Regions from separate parts of the Homo sapiens genome. Here region 2 is linked to region 1. Evidence: promoter capture Hi-C in human tissues and cell types (Jung and others, 2019). All regions are on one chromosome and are shown on one strand. The core of a region is centred on a gene start or on the middle of the fragment in contact, and the rest is flanking DNA. Distances in the headings are between cores, read along the strand shown.

Region 1 (6,422 bases), core at 1,274-3,773:
TTTAGTGGAGATTAAATCTCGCTATGTTGCCCAGGCTGGTCTCAAGCTCCTGGGCTCAAATGATCCTCCTGCCTCGGCCTCCCAAGTTCTGGGATTACAGGCATGAGCCACAACACCCAGCCTGGCCTGAACCAATCTTGATGGCCAGCACAATGGGCTATGCTGATTGGCCAAGACTTCCACCTTAGGGAGGGGTGTTTGTGTGGTGGGAGAGTGGTGAGACCAGCCATTCACATCTCACAGACTGAAAGTCAGAACCAGTGTTCCCCAAATAAGGGTTGTTGACACTAAAAAGTTGAGGGAGTGGGTGGGGTTGAGAGAAGGAATATGCTTGTTAGGCAAAAAGTATAGGAGCTTACCAAAGTGCGCAAAATCATATCAAGAAGGAAGATGGCCGGGTGCGGTGGCTCATGTCTGTAATCCCAGCACTTTGGGAGGCTGAGGCGGGCGGATCACCTGAGGTCAGAAGTTCAAGACCAGCCTGGCCAACACGGTGAAACCCTGTCTCTACTAAAAATACAAAAAGTAGCCGGGTGTGGTGGTGGGTTCCTGTAATTCCAGCTACTTGGGAGGCTGAGGCAGGAGAATCACTTAAACCCCAGAGGCAGAGGTTGCAGTGAGCTGAGTCTGTGCCACTGCACTCCAGCCTGGGAAACAGAGACTCCGTCTCAAAAAAAAAAAAAAAAAAAAAATCCCATAAAAATTAGCTGAGCATCATGGTGCATGCCTGTAATCCCAGCTACTTGGGAGGCTGAGGTAGGAGAATCGCTTGAACCTGAGAGGCAGAGATTGCAGTGAGCCAAGGTTGCGCCACTGCACTCTAGCCTGGGCGACAGAGTGAGACTCTGTCTCAAAACAAAGATAAAGTAGGGCAGTGGCAATATCCAAGGCATTCTAAATGAAAATCGATATATATATATATATATTTAACATGAGCATTTTATTACCTGTTGTAAAGCATGAATCAAAGCATGTTTGGAAGATGTCAGCATCCCCTCCAGCCATCCTCAGTCCAATAAAATGTGTGCTTGTTGTGCCATTAGAGCCATCATCAATTCCCCCAGCTGACCTTCCTAGCTTCCACCCAGCCCATACTCTGAAATCCCTGCAGCCTCCTGAATATAAACTTTCAATATTGGTGGTTGGGGGTCCCTCTCTTGAGGGAGGGAGGGTTAGAGTCCCTCCTGCTTCCCTGGCTTACCACTCTGCCATCGGGGGAGTCTCTGCTCCTTCCTTCACTGCTGAGTCTTGATGGGATTTCTGGACCCTTCTGTTAGCACCTTGTTGCAAAATAGAGATCCTTGAACAAGACTGGACTGGAGAAGTATGCAGAGGGAAGGCTGAAGCTCTGTAACTCCAGTTCTTTGGGCTCAGGTATCCAGAGAATAGCAATATGCCCATTGCAAGGGAATGGGAAAAAGTAGTCGTCGGCTGGACATGGTGGCTCACGCCTGTAATCCCAGCACTTAGGGAGGGCGAGGCGGGTGGATCACCTGCTGTCAGGAGTTCAAGACCAGCCTGGCCAACATGGTCTTTAGTCTCTACTGAAAATAAAAAAATTAGCTGGGCGTGGTGGCGCCTGCCTGTAATCCTAGCTACTGGAGAGGCTGAGGCAGGAGAATGGCTTGAACCTGGGAGGAGGAGGTTGCAGTGAGCCGAGATCGCACCACTGCATTCCAGTCTGGGCGACAAGGGCAAAACTCGGTCTCAAGGGAAAAAAAAAAAAAAAAAAGAAAGTCGTTAAGGGCAACAGCTAGGTTTATGGACTGAGAGAGCCGATTGCAGGGTTCAGGTCTTAGCTAAGATAACTTTCCGCCTCCCTGTCTGTGGTGGCTGCAGGAGCCTCCCTCCCTAATGTTCTGTGGCTGGCCACTGGTCTTATTTACCGCATCACATTTACCTCCATCTGAAAAGTTCTTGGTTATTTGTGTGCTATGTCTGCCCCCTCTCTGACTGTACACTCCATAAGGGCAGGGATCACCTCTGCTTGTTCACGCCTGTACTCCAGTTTGCCTGGCACATAGTAGGTGCTCAGTAAATATTCCTTGAATGAATGAATGCATGAGTGACCAACGCCCTAGTCTGTTTTCAGAGCTCTTAGTCCAAACCCAGGTTCAACTTGGGGTGCCACCAATCCTTGCGGGGGGGGGTGCCTGGCCCCACCCTTGTGAATTGGGAGGATCTGGGTCAGGCCGTCTCCCTCTTGGGGGCTCCAGTGCCCCAGCCGATCCGCGGTCCTTGTCCAACAGCCCAGAGGCCGCTGTCCAGCGGGCCAGGAGGCGGATCACTGCGTCGGCGTTGAAATTTCCACTCGCGCTCCACCGCCCTTCCCGCGGGCCCCGAGCGCGCGCCTGGGCGCGCGCATGCGCCTTCGCCCCCGCGCCGCGCGCCGCTCCTGTGCGCCTGCGCCGCGCTCACGACCGCCGGCGCGCCTGCGCACTGCTCGCCGCCCGTGGGCCCAGCCGGCGCTTGCGCGGTGGCACGGGCGAGTGGGGGGGCGAGGAGGTGGAGGAGGAGGAGGAGGAGGAGGAGGTGGCGGCGAGAAGATGGCGACTTCGAACAATCCGCGGAAATTCAGCGAGAAGATCGCGCTGCACAATCAGAAGCAGGCGGAGGAGACGGCGGCCTTCGAGGAGGTCATGAAGGACCTGAGCCTGACGCGGGCCGCGCGGGTAAGGGGGCTGCCCGCGCCGACCCTTCAGGGCCGGCGGAGGGAGGGAGGGGGCGCGTGTCCGGCGCGTGCACGGGGCGGGGTGGGGGGGGGCGCGGCGGGGGCGGGGCGCGCGCGGCGGGGGCGGGGCTTGGCACGGCCCGAGGGGGACAGGTGTCCCCACGCCCCGGGCGTCGTGGGCGGGACAGGTGACCCCACAAAATCCATACCTGATGGGGTACAGGTGCCCTGCATCACTGCTCCCCGGAGGAGACAGGGGCCTCTATATCATTACTACTAGGAGGGAACAGGTGCTAGTACCTCGTCGTTACCTGACAGGGGACAGGTGTCCCTACATCATTGTTACCCGAGGGGGACAGGTGCCCCACATTATTACTACCTGGAAGGGACAGGTGCCCCCGCATCATTGCTACCTGGGGGGGCAGGATGACACAGGTGTATGAGCTGGGTGCTGCTTGCAAGCACCATTGGTAGCTGGGGGTGAGGGTGCAAGTGCCCCCGCATCCTTGCTACCTGGGAGGGACAGATGCCCTCCCATTCTTGCTACCTGAGGGGGACCGGTGTCTCTACGTCATGGTTACCTGTGCCTTTACTCCCTGGGTGTTGGGGGAGGAACGGATGTCCCCACTTGCAGAGCTGAGGTGGGACAGGGATCTCTCCCTCTTGGACAGCTGAGGGAATGGTCAGATCCTGTCCCCCAGGGGGTCCAGAGGGGGGCCAAGAAGGCAGATTGTGCTCAGTCCTGGAACTTGGAGTGGAGACAGCTGCCCCTTCTCCATGTAGCCCATATGGTGGGGGCCAGGTGATGTTCCTCCCAGTGGAACAGGGGATGCTGACCACAGCCCCTGCCCTCTCAGGACCAGGGTGGAGGGCCAGGTCTGCCTCAGGTGGCTGGGCGCATTTGGTGTGCAGGGGCAGGCCAGGTTCTGCCAGGCTCCTGTCTGGCAGAGCAGATACCCTGCAAATCTCACCTGGGAAGTTGCTGTGGGCCAGGAGCAGGGGCTTGGGGCTGGTGTCTGAGCACGGCAAGGCACCCGAGTTCCTCAGGCCTCAGTTTCTTGTCAGGCATTCTAGCAAGACCTTCCTCTTGGGGCAGGGTGGTGAGCACACTCTGCAAAGGTGATGCTGAATCTCCACTTTGTTCTTGCAGTGTGGTGAGACCTCTCTCCTGCATCCTGGGGCCTTGGGGAGGGTTTGGGTGGGCTTTGCAGATGCTCGTATCCCTGGTTTCCAGATTCAGCCACTGATGTGACTGGCTCAGGTAGACTTAACCTCAGTCTCTGATTCCTTAGGTAGCACTTTCAGTCTGTGTTACTTTGTAACTAGTTGTTTGTTTCTCTGAGAGATTGTGACCTTATAGACTAGGATTTGTGTCTTCATTTCTGTGTTGGTAATGATTGGGAGCTCACTGTCACCCAGGTACTGCTTTAGGCATGCTCGGTGAGTGTGCCACATCTGTCCTCCCAGCTCCAAGCAGCTACATTCTTGCTCAGGATGTAGAGAAAGAGATGGCTGGTGAATGAATGAATGAAAAAAAAATAAGAAAATGGCCAGGTGTGGTGGCTCATGCCTGTAATCCCAGCACTTTGGAAGGCTGAGGCAGTGGATCACCTGAGGTTAGGAGTTCGAGACCAGCCTGGCCAACGTGGTGAAACCCTGTCTGTACTAAAAATATAAAAATTAGCCGGACGTGGTGGTAGCTACCTGTAATCCCAGCTACTGGGGAGGTTGAGGTGGGAGAATCACTTGAACCTGGGAGGTGGAGGTTGCAGTGAGCCGAGATCATGTTACTGTACTCCAGCCTGGGTGACAAGAGTGAAACTCCATTTCAAAAAAAGAAAATAAGAAGAAAGTGTGCAACTTGAGCATCCTTCCACGTGAGTGTCCCCCACATATCAGGGCTTCTGAGGCAGGAGTGGCCACTTCTTTTTGTCTCCAGCACATGGTGTGTGCTGGCATGCAGTTGTTGTCAAATGTTTGCAGTGTGACCGGAAGAAAGGGGTCACAGTAGGTTCATGGGTGTCATTCTGATTAGAAGTCCAGTTTCTGCGTGGGATTGGAAATAGATTATTGTTGTTGAAAACATCTCTTTAAAATAATAGCTTTATTGAGATATGATTCACACATCATACAATTTACTTGTTTAAAGTGTACAGTTTGGTGGTTTTTAGTATATTCACAGAGTTGTGCAACCACCCCTATTTTGTAATTCCAGAACATTTTTTATCCACCCAGAAAGAAACCCCGTCCCCATTAACAGTCACTCCCCATTCCCCCTCCCCTAGCCCCTGGCAAGCACTAAGCTGTCTTCTGTCTCTGTGGGTTTTCCTATTCTGGGCATTTTATATAAATGGAATCACACAACACGTGGCCTTTTGTGACTGGCATCTTTCACTCAGCGTCATGTTTTCAAGGTTCATCTCTGTAGTATCATGGATCAGTGCTTCGTTCCTTTTTAGGGTCAAGTAATATTCCGTTGTATGGATATATTGTATTTGTTTATCCATTCATCAGTCAATGAATTTAGAAAAATTCTGAGGCCAAGTGCAGTGGCTCACACTTGTAATCCCAGCACTTTGGGAGGCCAAGGTGAGTGGATGACCTGAGGTCAGGAGTTCGAGACCAGCCTGGCCAACATGGTGAAACCCGTCTCCACTAAAAATACAAAAATTAGTCGGGTGTGGTGGCACATGCCTGTAATCCCAGCTACTCGGGAGGCTTAGACAGAAGAATCGCTTGAACCTGGGAAGTGGAGGTTGCAGTGAGCTGAGATTGTGTCACTGTACTCCAGCCTTGGCAACAGAGTGAGACTCCATCTCAAAACAAAAACAAAAACAAGATTCTGAAGATATGCAGGTGGCAGTTCTTTCAGCCCTGGAAACCATTTCCCATCTTCCTCATCACCTGGGGTCAGGGGAGCATGGGCTCTGGGCAGAGGTGAGTTCACACTAGATTTTTAGACACAAAGCATTGTTCTCTTTCTGGGGCAGGGGGTGATTCTGCCCCCCAGGGGACACTTGGTGATGTCTGGAGACATTTTGGGTCATCATGATTAGGGAGTGCTTCTAGCATCTGGTGGGTGGAGGCTGGGATGCTGCCCAACCCCCTACATGTAGTGCACAGGATGGCCCCATCGTGTGGAATAATCTGGCCCCAGATGTCGGCAGTGCCAAGACTGAGAAACTTTTTTTTTTTTTTTTTTTTTTGAGATAGACTCTTGCTCTGTTGCCCAGGCTGGAGTGCAGTGGCGCAATCTCGGCTCACTGCAACCTCTGCCTCCCGAGTTCAAGTGATTCTCCTTCCTCAGCCTCCCGAGTAGCTGGGATTACAGGCATCTGCTACCATGCCTGGCTAATTTTTGTATTTGTAGCAGAGATGGGGTTTGTAGTAGAGACCATGTTGGCCAGACTGGTCTCGAACTCCTGACCTCAGGTGATCCGGCCACCTCGGCCTCCCAAATTGCTGGGATTACAGGCATGAGCCACTGTGCCCAGCCAAGGCTGAGAAACTTTTGATTAGAGGTGTAACAGTGAGGTGGGCCAGGGTGTGAGCTTTGCACCTGGTCAGGTAGAGTTCCATCCTTTGCTCCCACCTATATGGCTGTGCCATCTCTGGCAGGCTGCGACCAGGGTGGGCAAGCTTATTCCCAGTTTGACTGGCCACTGCACAGTCCAAGTGGCATGTCCGCCGTGCCTGGAGCAGGTGAATGAACCTATATGATGTGGGCTTCCCTCCTGCAGCCATGGCGCGC
Region 2 (6,422 bases), core at 1,360-3,859, 170 kb before region 1:
ACACACACACACACACACACACACACACACACACACACACACACACACACACTCCCCTCCCCAACTGGAGGCCTGGGGCTCCTCCTGGAAGTAGGTGGATTCCACCTGCCCACAGGATCCTAAGAAAACTCTGCTCCTCCTCTTCCCTCCCACCCACCTTCAGCAAATGCCTCAGGGCTAGGCCAAGGGCAGCAGCTGGACCCCCCCGCCCAGCCAGTGCCCCCCAGTGGGCTGTCCCTGACCTGCAGGACCTCCAGGCCACTTCTCACCTGGAAGAGACCTCATTTTCCACAAAAGCTTAATCCAAAAAGGGCTAAAAATAGAGATTCTGCACCCATCTGAGCTCTTTGCCTGAGAAGGGCCCTGAAGCCTCAGTACCTGCAGGGCTCAGAAGTCCTGCCACTGAGAGGCTCAACCACCCTGGCCAACCTCACCCAAGGCCCTTCCTAACCCTCACTGCTTACAGAAACCCATGTCCCAGCTGGGCACGATGGCTCACGCCTGTAATCCCAGCACTTTGGGAGGCCAAGGTGGGTGGATCACTTGAGGCCAGGAGTTTGAGGCCAGCCTGGCCAGCATGGTGAAACCCCGTCTCTACTAAAAACACAAAAAACTTAGCTGGGCATTGTGGCGCAAGCCTGTAATCCCAGCTAATTTGGAGGCTGAGGCACGAGAATTGCTTGAACCTGGGAGGTGGAGGTTGCAGTGAGCCAAGAATCACACCACTGCACACTCCAGCCTGGGTGACAGAGTGAGACTCGGTCTCAAAACAAAAAGAGAAACCTGCATCCCAACACAGGCCGGGCAACCGCACACTGGCTATGCAGAAGCAGGGCACGTAGCCACTGTCATCTCCACTCAGCCCCAGCTTCCCTCACTGCAGAGCCACACCGGGCTCTCCCTGTCCCTTTCTCTCACCTGAGCCCAGGTGATCCTGCTCGAGACCTTCCTCTGTCACCTGTGACCAGGTGACTCCTGGGTCCATCCAGGGGCATCAGAGGCCCTGCAGGTCCTAGCTCTCACAGGACAGTCACATACATGAGGGCATTTAAATGGCTCCAAGACCACCCCACACCCATTAAGATGGCTACCATCAAAAAATAACCAGTTCGGGCAAGGACGTGGCGAAACCACAACCCTTGTGCACGGCTGGTGGGAATGTAAAATGCTGCAGCCGCTGTGGAAAACAATCTGGCAAATCCTCAAAAAATTAAACACAGAATGACCAAATGAGGCCGGGAGCAGTGTCTCACACCTCTAATCCCAGCACTTTGGGAGGCCGAGGTGGACAGATAACCTGAGGTCAGGAGTTCAAGACCAGCATGGCCAACATGGTGAAACCCCGTCTCTACTAAAAATATAAAAATTAGCTACGCATGGGCCGGGTGCGGTGGCTCATGCCTGTAATCCCAGCACTTTGGGAGGCTGAGGCGGGCAGATCATGAGGTCAGGAGATCGAGACCATCCTGGTTAACATGGTGAAACCCCATCTCTACTAAAAATATAAAAAATTAGCCAGGCATGGTGGTGGGCGCCTGTAGTCCCAGCTACTCGGGAGGCTGAGGTAGGAGAATGGCATGAACCCGGGAGGTAGAGCTTGCAGTGAGCTGAGATAGCACCACTGCACTCCAGCCTGGGTGACAGAGCGAAACTCCGTCTCAAAAAAAAAAAAAATTAACTTGGCGTGGTGGTGGGCGCCTGTAATCCCAGCTACTTGGGAGGCTGAGGCAGGAGAATTGCTTCAACCTGGGAGGCAGAGGTTGCAGTGAGTCAAGATCACGTCACTGCACTCCAGCCTCGGCGATCCAACAGGTCTACTTCTGGGTATGTATCCAAAAGAACTGAAAGCAGGGGTTTGAACAGATACTTACATGCCCTGTTCACAGTAGCATGGTTCACTACAGTCAAGAGGTGGAAGCAACCCAAATGCCCATGGACAGAGGAATGGATGAGCACGATGTGGTCCATCCACACCACAGGACATCAGTCTGGTTCCCTGCCCACTGCCCACCACCCACCATACCACCGGAGGGGGCCTGATGGAGAAGGTGGAAGTACAGGGGGCCCCAGCTCCCTCTGACAGTGCTGTGGGCTTTCCAGTGGGAAAATTGCTAAAGAAACCAGGAAGCTGGCCAGGCACAGTGGCTCAAGCTTGTAATCCCAGCATTTTGGGAGGCTGAGGTTGGAGGACTGCTTGAGCCCAGGAGTTCGAGACCAGCCTGCGCAACACAGTGAGACCCTGCCTCTACAAATTAAAAAAAAAAAAAGGGCCGGGCACAGTGACTCACGCCTGTAATCCCAGCACTCTGGGAGGCCGAGGTGGATGGATCATGAGGTCAGGAGTTCAAAACCAGCCTGGCCAAGATGGTGAAACCCCGTCTCTACTAAAAATACAAAAATTAGCCGGGCATGGTGGCAGATGCCTGTAATCCCAGCTACTGGGGAGGCTGAGGCAGGGGAATCGCTTGAACCCAGGGGGCAGAGGTTGCAGTGAGCCAAGATCATGCCACTGCACTCCAGTCTAGGCGACAGAGTAAGACTCCGTCTCAAAAAAAAAAAAGAAAAAAAATTAGTTGAGTGTGATAGCATATGCCTGTAGTCCCAACTACTGGGGAGGCTGAGGTGGGAGGATCGCTTGAGCCCAGGATGTTGAGGCTGCAGTGAGCTGTGATCACGTGATTGCACTCCAGTCTGGGCAACAGAGCAGAAAGCTCCGTCTCAAAAATAAAGAAATAAAAATAAAGAAACAGGCCAGGTGCGGTGACTCACGCCTGTAATCCCGGCATTTTGGGAGGCCAAGGCGGGCAGGTCGCTTCAGCTCAGAAGTTCAAGACCACCCTGGGCAACATGGTGAAACCCCATCTCTACAAAAACATACAAAAAGCAACCAGGCGTGATGATGGGTGTCTGTAGTACCAGCTATTTAGGAGGCTGAGGTGGGAGGATTGCTTGAGCCTGGGAGGCAGAGGTTGCAATGAGCCAAAACTAGGAAGCCAGTTCTCTATTTCAGAAAAAAAACAATAAAACCCTAACAGCAGAGCTATAGGAGAAGCTATTTTAAATTTTGGAGGCTTTGCTTTCTGGGATCATTTTTTGGGTCAACGAGGAGAGCAGCTGACACCTCGTGCACAGCCAGGGAGAACAAGCCTGTCTCACCTCTAGGACAACACCTTCACCTGAATTGGGAAGTTGAGGCTCAGGGAGGGTGCCAGCAGCCTGGAGCCCCAAATTGTCAGTGGGAGCAGCGCCACCAATGTACCTGATCCCCAATATGCAGTTCTCAGCATCCTTCAAGAGAGACGCCTCTTTGTGAAAACATTTTCACCAACATATAAAAAGGACACGGGGCGCAACAACAGCATCTCATGAAGAGCTGAGGCCCCCGATGGGCCTGGGGGAAGGACAGGGGTGTTAACAGTAGGGTATATACTTGCGGTCTCCCCATCTGAAGAACGGTGAGAAGGACTGACCACAGCCCTCCATCACCAGCAGCTCAATTTGTCCAAAGAGGAGCAAGCCAAGCGGGGCTGAGCTGCCTTCCCTGGCCTCAAAATCGCAGCCTCATACTCCAGGCTCCACTCACAGACACATGGGCATGCCAGGCCGTGGCCTGTGCTGGGTCACCTGCCTCACCTCACCTCATCGCTCTATGTAGCCTCACTACGGGACAGTGGACTGGCCTGTACACACACAAGGCCTGCAGCATCCGGACATCCCCAGAACCAAGCATAGTGCCAAGAACACAAAAATGCCCGAAGAATACTGACCTGTCAGGCTCCACGATGCACAGAAGGTGCAGCATTAAAACATAAAGTGTTCAGGGAAGAAGAGACGCAAAACCATATGATTGTGCCACTATGACAACACGGTACACCCAGGCGAGACAGAGGAGGGTGCAAAGGTGTCAACAGAAATTACCTGGGGCAATGAGAACAGACTTGCTAATTTTAGGTACATTGCAGGCTTTCTACCCTGAGTTATACTGCTTATATAGTAAAAAGGAAAAAAAAAACTTCACAGGATGCTTTTAAAACAGGAGTTCAGGCTGGGCCCAGTGGCTCACGCCTGTAATCCCAGCACTTTGGGAGGCTGAGGCGGGCGGATCACAAGGTCAGGAGATGGAGACCATCCTGGCTAACACGGTGAAACCCTGTCTCTACTAAAAACACAAAAAATTAGCCGGGCGTGGTGGCGGGCGCCTGTAGTCCCAGCTACGCAAGAGGCTGAGGCAGGAGAATGGCATGAACCTGGGAGGCAGAGGTTGCAGTGAGCCAAGATCACACCACTGCACTCCAGACTGGGCGACAGAGCGAGACTCCATCTCAAAAACAAAACAAAACAAAACAAAAAAATCGGAATTCAGTTATTCCACAAACTTGACCAGAACTCGAAGCCCTACCCCTTCACAAACACATCTGCTGGCCTGGCTGCCTCAGTCAGGAGCCGTGTCTCCACTTGGTCAGGAGGGTCCAGCCCTGGAGGATATAATTAGCATCAGACTCTGGGGCCCACTGCCAGGTCAGATGGAGGCGGGAGGTCTCTAGGACGCTTTTATCTGGGAGAATAGTCTCCCTGCGGATGGTTTATTTGGACACCAGCTTTTTTCATTAAAAAGCAAAGTGACAGCCGGGCACGGTGGCTCGCACCTGTTAATCCCAGCACTTTGGGAGGCCAAGGCAAGCAGATCACGAGGTCAAGAGATCGAGACCATCCTGGCTAACACGGTGAAACCCCATCTCTACTAAAAATACAAAAAAATTAGCCGGGTGTGGTGACGGGCGCCTGTAGTCCCAGCTACTCAGAAGGCTGAGGCAGGAGAATGGCGTGAACCTGGGAGGCAGAGTTTGCAGTGAGCTGAGATCACACCACTGCACTCCAGCCTGGGCAACAGAGTGAGACTCCATCTCAAAAAAAAAAAAAAAAAAAAAAGCAAAGTGACAAAATAACCACATGTCATGGCCATCTCTGTCATTCACTGCACCTGCAGGTCACAGGCCATTTGGATGCATTGTTCTACATTTCCCTTTGGACTCTGTGGCTGACTACACAGGTGAGATTGAAGACAACCCTGTCCATGAGATTCAGAGACCAAGGAGAAAGTGTAACAACTGAATTCATCAAGGCAGAAAGCACAACGGGGAGCAAGACCCTAAAACAAAGGACACAGAAGAGGCCAAACCCAAAATGTGCAGTATCAATCACAAGTCTGTGCCCTGCCAGGTGCCTTAAACAAGGCTGATGCCCCCTGAGAAGCAGACCTCTGAAAACTAGGGTCTCTTCCCTGGGCAGCTGCTTCGAGCCCAGGGCTACGTGGAGCAGAGAGGCAATCCTGTTTGTCAGGCTGGCGGGTTCCTCCCTCAAGGTCTCCCAGTCGGGATGTCACAATCCGGGTGTGATGTCAAAACTGCTTCAAAGGTGATGAACTACGGCCTTGGCCGTGAGTCAACAGAGGGGTGGGTTTCCGAGTGAGCGCTGCCTGCTGTTTACACACAATCACAGCCACGGCAACCAGCTGAAAGCACAGTCAAGGGTCACGATGCCGAGTGCAGAGCTCAGTCCCTCACACACACTCTTGCCTGCCTCCTGCAGAGACTGCCAGCTCGGGCCCACAGACTCAAGCTGGCTTGTCCTCTTCTAGCACCTTCTGGGAGAATCCACCCAGAACCACCAAATGCTCACCTTGAAACACACAGGCAAACCATACCCTGGTGCACCAGTGGGCCACTCCTGATGCCTCCTGGCAGCCCACCTGTTCCACCCCAGCCCATCCAGCGGCCACAGTCCTTCAGAGGTGGCAGAGCCCAGGCCATGACACTTGGATTCTGAGTTCTCAGCTACTTCCCAGCTGGGAGATCCTGCCTGGTGATTCAGCCTCCTCCAGAGTCTCCACCCATATCCTCACCTAAGAAATGGGAACTGCTCCCACCACGGGGAAGATGGGATGAAATGCAGTACTGTGGGTGGCACAGCCAGCACTGGCGGGGTGGGGCACCCTCCACAGGTGTAGGTGCCCATCACCTTTCCACTTTCTTGGGGGAGGGGGTCCAGCATAGCCAGCAACCGGAGGAATCTGCTCAGTCACTCACGTCACCAAGGTTCGGGCCTCTTGGGGACGCGGAAAGTTGCATTTAAGTGAGGCTCAGGACCCCAGTGTGACTCCCCTTCAGGTCAAGACCCCTGCAACCTCAAAAGATAGTTTGGCTTGAGCACTCAAGAGGCAGTATGGGCCAGTGAGGACAGCCGAGCACCCTTGGACAGGTGATGCCGCCTCTCAGAGCCTCATCTGTCCCTGTCGTGAAGGGGGACCATAAACTTCCTCTCCCGGCAAGTGGTCAAGATGATGTGCACCCATGGGAAGGGATGGGGGTCTAGCCCAGGGCCAACAGGGGCAGCACTAGCACTAGGTCTCTAAAGAAGGCCTT

Evidence for each region. Contacts are between HindIII fragments. The study calls those that stand out against the background at their distance.
Region 2: a contact is called between a fragment that was not itself captured here and the fragment with the promoter of CRTC1 in region 1, in 1 of the 25 tissues and cell types used here (dorsolateral prefrontal cortex).

The regions. Positions count from the first base shown.
Region 1 is chr19:18,681,157-18,687,578 of GRCh38, forward strand. CRTC1 (CREB regulated transcription coactivator 1) reads left to right here and starts at 2,524. Exons shown (of 14, transcript NM_015321.3): 1 at 2,524-2,672. The coding sequence starts at 2,547. RefSeq lists an enhancer at 1,914-2,213 and a silencer at 2,424-2,513. The HindIII fragment of the contact is 17,160 bases long and covers 1-6,422 here.
Region 2 is chr19:18,509,607-18,516,028 of GRCh38, forward strand. All of the region lies in intron 1 of ELL (elongation factor for RNA polymerase II), which reads right to left. Among named protein-coding and RNA genes, the nearest start is that of ELL, 9.3 kb to the right of the region's middle. The HindIII fragment of the contact is 5,853 bases long and covers 1-5,536 here.